2 separate regions of the Homo sapiens genome follow, and region 1 is linked to region 2. Evidence: promoter capture Hi-C in 16 types of primary human blood cells and fetal thymus (Javierre and others, 2016). All regions are on one chromosome and are shown on one strand. Each heading gives the region's core, a stretch centred on a gene start or on the middle of the fragment in contact. The rest is flanking DNA. Distances are from core to core; before and after follow the strand shown.

Region 1 (5,809 bases), core at 2,061-4,560, 1.2 Mb after region 2:
GAGTGAACCAAGGGATGCCCAGATACCTGGTAAAACATTATTTCCACGTGTGTTGGTGAGGGTGTTTCTGGAAGTCATTGACATTTCTACTGGTAGACTGAGTAAAGAAGATCCACCCTCACTAATGTGGATGGGCATCAGTCCATTCAGTGCCCCATATGAAACAAAAAGGCAGAGGAAGGACAAAATCAGCCTCTCTGCTTGTTCTGGGACATCTATTTTCTCCTGCTCTTGGATATCAGTACACTTGCTTCTCTGGCCATTGGACTTGACTGAATTACACCTCCAGCTTTCCTGATTCTCCAGCTTGCAGATGGCAGATCGTGGGTCTTCTCAGCCTCCGTAATCATATGAGCCAATTCCTACAATAAACCTCTCTGTCTCTCTCATTCTGTTTCTCTGGCAAACTCCAATATTCCCTCCTAGGGACAGGAATTTTATCACTCTGATGCCTTATGGCTACTATTCATGGACGTTTCTTATAGCTTTGATTTTCTTGCAGTGTATATCCCAGGTAAATACCTTTCTCTGCTATTGGAGTCCCCTTTCCTCCCCTTATTCTTGTTAACTTTTGGCTTGGATTACATTTTATATGAACTAGGCCTTACCAAAAAATTTTTAAAATGTCTGTCAGTGAGGAAAGGATAGGTCCAGTGTATAACTTAAAAGACGCTATGAGGCAGAGTTCTGTTTTTGTTTTTGTTTTTTTTTTCTTGAGACAGAGTCTCGCTCCATCATCCAGGCTGGAATGCATTGGCACCAACTTGTTTCACTGCAACTTCTGCCTCCCAGGTTCAAGCGATTCTCTTGCCTCAGCCTCCCGAGTAGCTGGGATTGCAGGTGTGTTCCACCATGCCCGGCTAATTTTGGTATTTTTAGTAGAGATGGGGTTTCTGCCATGTTGGCCAGGCTGGTCTTGAACTCCTGGCCTCATGTGATCTGCCCACCTTGGCCTCTCAAAGTGCTGGAATGACAGGTGTGAGCCACTGCACCCAATCAGAATTCTTTTTTATTTTGATAGCTTTGACTGCTTTGATAGTTCTCCATCAAGGAAACTGTTCAAAATGAAAAACAGAACATGTCTTATAGGAGGACTCTCTAAGTCCAATATTAGTGAAGACGATAAGGACAATTTCTTCCTAGAAATAATATATTTCTATCTTCAGCACAAGAGGAATTAATTCCACAGCACTAATAGAAACTGTTAATAGTGTAAATTACAAACAATACAACAAAAATGAAAGCAAAACACACTCCACAGAAGTATGTCAGAAATAAAAAAAAGAAATTCCTTAAACCCTCAAGCCAGCATGCTTGATACAAATTTATACTTTTTTTTTTTTTTTTGAGATGGAGTTTTGCTCTTGTTGCCCAGGCTAGAGAGCAATGGTGCAATCTCGGCTGACTGCAACCTCCGTCTCCGGGGTTCAAGCAATTCTTCTGCTTCAGCCTCCTGAACAGCTGGGATTACAGGCGTGCGCCATCATGCCCAGCTAATTTTGTATTTTTAGTAGAGATGGGTTTATACATTTTTAAAGAATGGACAATGATGCAGATGATTTGTGAGCATTTTGATGAGAAAGTGGTGATTAGAAGGATACAGCATAAATTTAATTGTAAACATGCTTATCTAGCTAACCTAATCTGTTTCTGTAGAATTACTGGCATGGGAGATTGGATAGATGCCTAACCTATCTCAATTTTAAGTAATGTGAGCAAGTCTTTAAGGTATACATAATGATAAAATGGAGAAACATGACCAGATGATGATGGTCATGTAGGTAATTAGATGGATTTGTAGGTGGTTGAAATTGTATCTAAGCATAGCAATCTGGCCTCTGTCTACTCTCCAACAGAATCAATAATCATTCCACATCCCTCTGCTCCAACCATACTGAATTATTTGCAGTTCTCTAAAAACATCATATTCTTAAACCCCAGGGCTTTTGCACATACTATTCCTTTGCCTGAAGCAATGTTTTCTTGCTCCTTTACCTCATTCTTACTCATTCTTTGGATATCAGCTTAAATTTCGTAAGTTGAAAATGCACTTAATACACCTACCCTACTGAACATTAGAGCTTAGTCTAACCTACCTTCAACATGTTCAGAACACTTACATTAGCCTACAGTTAGTTGGGCAAAATTATATAACACAAAGCCTATAATAAAGAATAAGATATTGAATATCTTATATTCAATATGTAATTTCTTGAATATTATACTGAAAGTGAAAAGCAATGGTTTTGCACCATCATGAAGTAAAAAATTCATGTCATGCACTTTCTATAGTACTCAAGAGAACTTGGCAGCACCATTTGTCACACAGAGTTCACCCTAAATTCACCTGGTAATTTTGGTGACCCTCTGCTAGTTAGTTGCTTTTGTCCAAGGGAAAAATAAATTTCTTGTATCTTTATGACAGAAGATAGCTTTGTAATGGAGCAAGGTGCCTAATAAAGTTAGGCTCTTATGTTTCCAGGAAGCTGAAAGATAGGGGTACTATTTTTCTCAATGATTAAATTTCAGTGAGATAGCTCCCAGGTCCTTGAGGAATTCACATTCTTAGGTTGTAAAATTGGCAAAAGCCTAATTTAGTTTTTGGAAAGATTTACAGGCATTTCAAAGAGGCACAGAAAAAGCTTACAATTAAGTTTCCTAAAGTAAATGACCAAAGAAAAGGATGTGGAGGGTAAAAGTCTCTCTCTCTCCTTTGCACCAGGCAGAATTAAATAGTTTTATTTCTAATTTGTACTCACCCTTACACCAACAGTGTGAGCATCGCCTAGGAATTTTTGTTAGAGATGCAAATCCTCAGATCCCAATGCAGACTTACTTGATAAGAAACTCTGGGGATAGGGCCCAGGAATTTGAGATTTTACATAAGCTCCCTAGGTGATGCTGAGAATCATTGTAGAGGATTGTTGATAGCAGGCCATGTGCAAAGGATCTGGGGAAGGCAAAGGATTTAATTTTGTTTAAATTAGTGGTTATCTGAGGTTTGCATAAGTAGTTATCTGGTCTGCTAGTATGTTACCTTCAATTAATTGGCAAGAAATTAGGATATCAAAAATAAAGATATTAGATGAGCCTTAGTTTAGCCAAGACAGTCAAACCTCAATAATTTACACAATAGAGAACAAAAACTAAATGATTATTTTTAAACTGTGCTAATTCGGCTCTCAAGTTCATTCTCTAGTTTACGAAGAGTCACCTGATCAAAATCATTTGAAAATCATTTGATTACTAAATCAAGTAAGCCATAAAAGCTAAACCCAAGTGAAACTAGATAATTGTGCAATTTTCTTAGATGGACTCCTTCTTAAGTTCACCTGGCTCTCTACTGGGGACCAAATCTTATATTTCTCAATTATGTATGCAAACTGGAATCACCTGAAAATACGTTTAAAGACAAAAATTGCAGCAGAGAAGCCAGGGAAGGGGTAGAGTGGATTCTTCCAGCACATGAGTTCACATGACTGCTTCCCCTTCTCAACAGGGGCCAGAGCCTGCCAGGACCTCAAAGAGGAGAGCTTCAGAGGCCCAGCTGACATACTAGGCATAGGGGCCAAAGAGTCTACCTTGAGAAAGGTTTTTATATCTCAAATTTGACCCACTCTTGAATGACAGCTCTAAGAAACTGGCTTCTCAGGAAACTGAGACAAACAGCATCTGTGATGCTACCATGCCTTCCTTAGGAAGTCGGCCTGAAGCAAAGCCGGTGGAATCTGATTTCTAGCGACTCCGGGTGTTCGTGTTCCTGTGATAGGGCCTCCCTTATGTGTCCATTGGCCCCATTGTGGATATACTGCAGTTTAGCCAGAAAGACCTGGATGTGGAGGTTAAAGCCACACAAATGGATAAACTGGAATTAAAAAGCATGAGGAGCTTTCCATGAAAAATGCCTGGAGATGGGGAAAATCATGGATGGGATTGTAACCCAGGTGATGGAGGTGTCTCAGAAACAGAGGAAGCTTGCCAAAGCTGAAATCCAGAAGGTTCTGAAAGAAAAAAAAAATCAAGACCAACTTACTAGACGTGAACTCCACGAAAAAAAAATCTCATCTTTTCAAGGGATTTGAGAAGCAGGAAGCTAGTGAAGCCTACTACAAAAATGAATAATGGCTAAAATTATTATGCTAAGCATTACATATTAGGAAGACCAGAGATACCAAGCATTAAAAGCCCACACATAAAAGAAACCCAATCTAGTAAATGAGGAAATTATGCAGGTCCAGAGGAAGACCTGAGTGGATGACTTGGCTCTTCCAGGTGAGCCTGATAAACAGGTATGGATCCGTTCCCTTGAGAGCATTCAGCAGAAAATAAAAGACTAAAGAAAATGATAAACTGATCAGAATCTGTAATTACCTGTTTTCAGAAGTATAAAAACCTAAAATCACTGACCAGTGACCTTCTGTCCCTCCATGTAACTCCATCTCTACAAGCAAGCCTTGTGTACCTTCTCAAAAAAAAAAGACATCTGTATGAGATATTTTGACTTTCATGTTCTGACTTATAAAATGGTGACGGCGAGCTTTCATTAGAAAATCCGTGTATTCTATCAAATGTATGCTCTTGTGAGGTTTACTGAAAAAAACTTGTTTTTTCCTTTGGTGGTGGTATCCTGTAGGTTTTTTACTATGGAGGAAAAAAAAAAACGCTGCTTTGAAACTGTCAGTAAATACGATCAAGACTCAATTTAAAACGGGACTCAAGCGTAGTTCATATGAGGCCAAGTTAATGGGGAGTTCCTTAGGAACTTTTGTAATACTAACTGGCAATAAAATAACTGCTACAACATGTCTTTATTTCGTCTTTCAAAAACAGTGTTTTCCCCTATCATCTTTAGGTAGATAAACTGTCCACGAAGGAGAGAGTGATCAGTTTATCTTAACATAAAGATTCCTAACTAGGAATTCAAAAAGATACTTCAGTGGGACGATATTGATCATCAGAATGACAAACCCATGAACGTTTTAGGAAAGGCAGTTTCAGATTTTTCTCCTTAGAGGGTTTCAAGAAACCCCTTGATTGAGAGGAGGGCACATATCCTCCTCTTACCTTCTTTGTTCCCAAAAGAGACTCAAAGAATTGTGAACCAAACTTTCATAATATAAAGTCTCTAATTACCTGAGAAAACTGCAGCCCAAAAATCTAAAGTGGCTTACCCAAAGTGAGGAAGTTAATACTATTCCTTTTAGTCCAAGAGAATAATGCCAACTGGATACAGCTCAAAGACTGCACCATTCCCATTATTTTTTGCCATTAGTTACGTTTAATTTTAAATATACCATCTTTGGCAGCAAAAATCAAGCTGGGCTTTCCTTCTCCTTTATAAATTGCATATATTTTTAACATATATTAACACTTTAAAACCGTGGGGTGGAAAGTTTAAAATGCCATAAAATAAGAATCATATATGCATTCTTTACACTGTAAAGCATTTTACCAGACATTAGAATCTGCATTCAGAATTCTTTCTCAGAACGTAAGTGTTCTTGAAGACATATATTTTGTCTTACTAATCTGTTTCTTCCAAGCACTACTGTACTAGGCATACGGTAAAGATATACATTCAAGTTTTAAAAGTAAATACTTTTTCCTGGTAGTGGCCAGGGCCTGCGTTCCTCAGACCAAAAGGCGCAAACTGGCATTGCTGTGATTTCAGAAGAGAAGTGAAATGTATAAAACGAAGTAATTCTGGGGAAGGAAAATGTCACAATTTTTCTTCAGTGTTGTCAGGCACACTAACCCGGGAAGCCGTCTCTGGGCCTGAACTATCCAAATTAGTGTCCGAGGAAGTGTG
Region 2 (5,339 bases), core at 2,536-5,035:
ATCTTATTTATAAAGCTTTATGATATCATTTATTTAAAATTGGTTTTAGACTGGGCATGGTGGCTCATGTCTGTAATCTCAATACTTTGGGAGGCCAAGGCCGGAGGGTGGCTTGAGGCCAGGATTTCAAGACCAGCCTGGGCAAAACAGTAAGACTCTATCTCTACCAAAGTAAATAAATAAATAAAATTATTTTTAATTATTCAATATAATTTACACTTCTTTCTGAACCAGTATTTACATTTAAATAGTATGCTATGCAATTATTTATACCTCGACCCACTAAAGGAAGCTTAATATTGGACCATCCATGTAGGAAAACACAACTGTAACATAGAAAATTATTAACAGTGGCATTAACATGAAAATAAACTTGATGATAATAGTTGTTGAAGATAGTGACTAATGAAATATTTTTGGTTGCTGTGGAAAATTTGCTTGTCCAAGCAAGTATAGAATTCTGTTAAGATAACTTCTCCTCAGTTATACCAAAGCATATAAAGAAATTCACTCTGTGTTAAATTCTCCCAAATGGTCATATTCAAAATATATGCTAAGAAACAATCTCAAGTCTTAAAAACATATTAAACCCCATCTCTACAAATAGTTTAAAAATTAGCCAGGCATAGTGCTGTACACCTGTGGTCCCAGCTACCCAGGAGGCTGAGGCAGGAGGATCACCTGAGCCCAGAGGTCAAGGCTGCAGTGAGCTGTGGTGGCACCAGTGCACTCCAGCCTGGGTGATAAAGCGAGACCTTGTCTCAAAAAAACACAGAAAAAACCCACACTGCTACCAAGAGCCAATCCTGCTATTGATCAAATAATAAAGCAATGTAATTTAATCCTACTTAGAAAAGAAATATAGGCCAGGCCTTGTGGCTCATGACTGTAATGCCAGCACTTTGGGAGGTTAAGCGGGGAGGATTGCTTGACCCCAGCAATTTGAGACCAGCCTAGGCAATACAGTGAGACCTCCATCGCTACAAAAAAATTTAAAAAATTAGCCAGAAGTGGTGGCACATGCCTGTGGTCCCAGCTTCTCTGGAGGCTGAGGTGGGAGGATCAGTTGAGCTTGGGAGGTGGGGGCTACAGTGAGCCATGATCATACCACTGCACTCTAGCCTGGGTGACAGAGCAAGATCCTGTCTCAAAAAAGAAAAGTAAAGAAAAGAAACATACACAACCAGCCAGAAAAATGTAAACAAGTTTAGCGAAGTTTTTAAAATGGAGAGTTCCTTGGATAAAACCAGTCACTATCTTAGCAGGTGGAAAGTTTCATTTTCATTGACAATAGATGGACACATTATAGGACTGCTGTGCCTGTTATGTTTTGATGACCTCCAGAAAGGGGTTCTCTGTATCATGCCATCAGAAATTTCTATCTTAACAATAAACCATCCTTGTCTATCTGGTCAACTTTGCATTGAGAGTTGGTTGGATTCAACTGAATTATAAAAGTAAAATGCCTAGCAACTACCAATGCTATAAACCCCTTTGCTCATGATGGATCATTAGCAAAGTTATAAAAATCAACAATATGGCTATTTCATTTTAATCTGCAGCCGTTCAGATAAAAGGGATTTACTACAACAGCTTTCAAAAATTTTGTAAGAAGTGTACTAATGCGTTCCTGCTTATATTTCCATAAAATTTGAATAACAGTGTAGTTTAAGACAGATGTCAGCTTCTCTGAACAGAATCATATGTTGTCAGCACTATGCACCTATGCACTTACATTTAAGTAGCTGTAGATGAGGTTTCCTGCCTGTTTCAACTTGTTTCATTGGTGTATCCTTTTCCTTATGTAAACCCAGCCCCTGAAAACAGTGTGTCTGCTTTCATAAACTTAAACCAAATATAGTCAATAAACATGTTATAAAAACAATTGTTTCCCCCCAAGAAGTGAAGATAAGCTGATGTAAATTCACTTTATTTGGATTTCAATCCAGCTTTCTTCTTTGATTTCATATATTATAACATCAATATTCACTTTTCTGAAGGGCTCCTGGAACCAGAAGTGCACTTAACTCTTTCTGTGCTGGGGACATTTTGATATCTCTATTACTAATACCTAGAATCTCCAATGATAAATAAATACCTCTGGGATGGACTGGGGATACACTGCAATAATTGAAGCACTTTATCCTTCACCAAAAATGGTATCCGTGTTCCTGTGAGTAGCAGGGAGGTGGAACTCTCACCTGCTGAGTCCCGTTCTAATTTCATCCAATCTGGTGAACAAGTATCCAACCAAAGGTGGTACCTGCAGGCATGCCCATTGTCACAGTAATGCAACACTGTAAGTCCTTAGCACAATGTTAAAATTGGTTGGAACTGAGTTTCAAATGTTTTCCTCTCGCTACTGAGGTCTTCTACTTCTTTCTTTTTCTCTTTGTCTCTAATATCTTTTTCTTTTTGTTTTTCTTTTTCTTCTTCTTTTTTTTTTTTTTGAGTTGGAGTTTCGCTCTGTTGCCCAGGCTGGAGTGCAGTGGTACTATCTCAGCTCACTGGAGCCTCTGCCTCCCAGGTTCAAGCGATTCTAGTGTCTCAGCCTCCCGAGTAGTTGAGATTACAGGCGCCCGCCACCACACCCAGCTAATTTCGTATTTTTAGTAGAGACAGGGTTTCACCATGTTGGCCAGGCTGGTCTCGAACTCCTGACCTCAAGTGATCCGCCCTCTTCGGCCTCCCAAAGTGCTGGGATTACAGATGTGAGCCGCCATACCTGGCTAATATATTTTTCTTAACTGACTAGAGCACAGAACACAAATCGTGTGTTTGCACTTACAAATTTCTATGATCATTGTTCCTAGTTTAAAAACTTCATTAGCAAAGGGGTTTATATTTCTCTTTTCAGTAAGGACACGAAATTATGTTTCAACAATGCCCAGTCTCACCTAAAAAGCAAGTTTTCATTCTCTGTTTATGGTAGCCCACGACAAACCAAAAAGATCATTTTGGATGGTATCATTGTTAATCCTGCTAAATGATTCAATTTCCTGCTGAAAGCAACAAACTAATACTTATTTAGTACCTACTATTTATTATTTGCATACTAGGGTTTATACACAAGGCGTCCTATGAAAGAACATTTCATTCAAAAGTCACAACATATAGTCTTCAATTATCAGCTACCTTTATTTGTAAGCCAAAATAAATGATTTAATACAGTCCTCCCAAACTGGGAGACAATGCTTTGAGAAAGGCCAAAGCTAGCCAGTAAGGCCATAAGTTCCATGAGGGCAGGATCTACCCAGCTCCTGTTTCCTGCTCAATTCCAAGCAGTTAGAACAGGGTCAGTAAACACTGCTTGCCACTTGGAAAGAGTATTCTTTTATTTGGAAATGGTATCCAGGTACTCGTGAGTAGCAAAGTCAAGAGCAGGAAAGGGGAGTGGGGGAGGTTGCAAAATCGGAGCGAGCAGCAGGACCGAGAGGGATCCGGAGGAGAGAGCCTTCAGACGGTGAACCCCAAGAGCTGGGATGAAGCATGGGTGAGCTACTGGGACTTCGCTGCCAGGGAGCAAGCTGGCAGGCAGGAAGTAGCCAAGATTTGGGGGAATCCTTCCCAGGGAACGAATACAGAGAAGGACGCATCTGAAAATTCCGCCGCAGCCACCTCCCTCCCATGGGAAAGCCCCGACCTCGGCGGGCCCAGCGCCACCCGGCTCCCCGGGGTGTGGAACACTGAGCGAGGCAGGTGCGGCGGGAGCATGCGCGCGGGGCGGGCAGGGGGCGGCTCCCGCGCCCCCACCCCGCGCGTGCACCCTCGCGCCCCTCCCGCCGGGCACCGCGGGGCAGCGGCGCCGCAGCCTGGGCTGGCGGAACCTCGCGCTCCGACTCGCCCCCCGCCTGTAGCTCGGTCGGCGTTGCGGGCAGGCGCCGCTCCGCTGGGGGTAAGAAGGACGCCGCCGCCCGCGTGGGATGGTCGCGAGCCCGCGTGGGTGCCCACGGCCGCCGCCGCGCGGGGTGGCCCCATCCCCGGGCAGGTAGAGGGGCCTGCACGACTCCCGCGGCGAGGGCCGGGCCGGTGGGGGCGGTGGCGGTTGGGGATAGCCCCGGTCCCGGCCCAGGCTCTTTCTCTTTCTCTTTCGCCGCCGGGGCGCGCGCCGGGCTCCCCGCGAGAGGCGCTGCCTCACTTGTCGCCTACTTTGGACGGGCGCGGCCGCCGCAGAGCCCGGCGCCTCGGTCAGCCGCGAGGGCAGGGTCGGGGTGCCAGGCGCGGCTACCTGGGCGCCCTGGAGCCAGCGCAGCCTGGGACCGGGGGAGCGGGACGGGACGGGACTCCTGAGGGCCCCCAGGCAGTCCTCCGGCCATCGAGCGCCCGGCGGTGGGCATTTGGCTTTTGTTTCCTCTGGGGCTAACGCCCCCGTCTGCCCGCGTGTCCCCCTCAGCCGACAAGTGTCGTGTGCCCGGACGGGCGAGCGCTGCCTCCCTCCACCCGCTTTCTGCCCTTGTCTTCCTCTGCGAGTTCTGCCCAGCCTCGGGAGCGGGAGCCCAGGGAGTGCGCGCAGGGCGGGCGGGCGCCTGGCCAGCCTGGGACGGCGGCTCTCAGGCTCCTGCCACCGCCTGGAACTGCGGGGGGCGCGCCGGCCACAGTCGCCCTCGCCTGCTCTCCGGGCCTTCTTGGGCCCGCTTGGTCCCAGGTGGACGCGAGTCGAGCTGGGCACACCTGGGCCAGCGCCGCACTTACCTGCGGGATTGGTGAGAGCGTTTTCGCGAGGTCGCAAATTCCGGGTGGGTATTGTCCCCTGCTTTTGATCTCCCTTAGTCACTGGTTAAAGTGCGAAGTGTGCTTTATCTTACATATGCCTTTAGAGGGACATTCTTAATGCGCCAATGCCCCGAGGTGGAACTAAATAAAGGGAAGGCCTGGTCATTGTTACTGTTGAGACTGCTGTACTTAACAGTCAGAGGAAGGCAGCTGGTCACCACGACCCACTCGGCCATTCCCATGCTGAAGACTCGCTCTCACTTCACACTTGTTTGGACTCCACTATGACTTGCTGGTGGCCCATCTCCTGGATCCTTCTGTTGGAGCTGTTCTAGAAGATGCTTGTGGCAGGCTCCAGTTTCAGTCCTTGGCTGAAATAAGTGTAGTGTGGCTCTTCGGTTTTCTAATCTATTCCACCTAAAAAGGTTAAGGTGACAAACAGGTGGTGGGTACAGTAGAGTTGTTTTTGGCCCTTGGTAATATTAAAAACTTGGAATGCATTCCTTATATTACTACAGAATTAGGAGAAACGGTTGAAAGAGGAGAGGTTTTTTTCTTGGAGTATCCAAAGGGATTGGATTCGACTACACTGACTTGGTGTGTAATGGTTGAGTAGGAAGGAAGAT

The links. The method cuts DNA at HindIII sites, captures the fragments that hold promoters and counts their contacts. A CHiCAGO score of 5 or more calls a contact.
Region 1: a fragment that was not itself captured here is called in contact with the fragment with the promoter of L3MBTL4 in region 2 in 1 of 17 cell types (total B cells); the score reaches 5.3 in total B cells.

Annotation. Positions count from the first base shown.
Region 1 is chr18:5,238,840-5,244,648 of GRCh38, reverse strand. LINC00667 (long intergenic non-protein coding RNA 667) reads right to left here. Exons shown (of 3, transcript NR_015389.1): 1 at 5,600-5,809; 2 at 2,837-2,950; 3 at 1-1,055. It also overlaps the pseudogene LOC100422274. Among named protein-coding and RNA genes, the nearest start is that of LINC00667, 3.6 kb to the right of the region's middle. The HindIII fragment of the contact is 1,332 bases long and covers 2,645-3,976 here.
Region 2 is chr18:6,413,357-6,418,695 of GRCh38, reverse strand. It overlaps L3MBTL4 (L3MBTL histone methyl-lysine binding protein 4), which reads left to right and starts at 3,785. Exons shown (of 19, transcript NM_001330559.2): 1 at 3,785-3,895. RefSeq lists a silencer at 3,743-4,282. The HindIII fragment of the contact is 5,527 bases long and covers 295-5,339 here.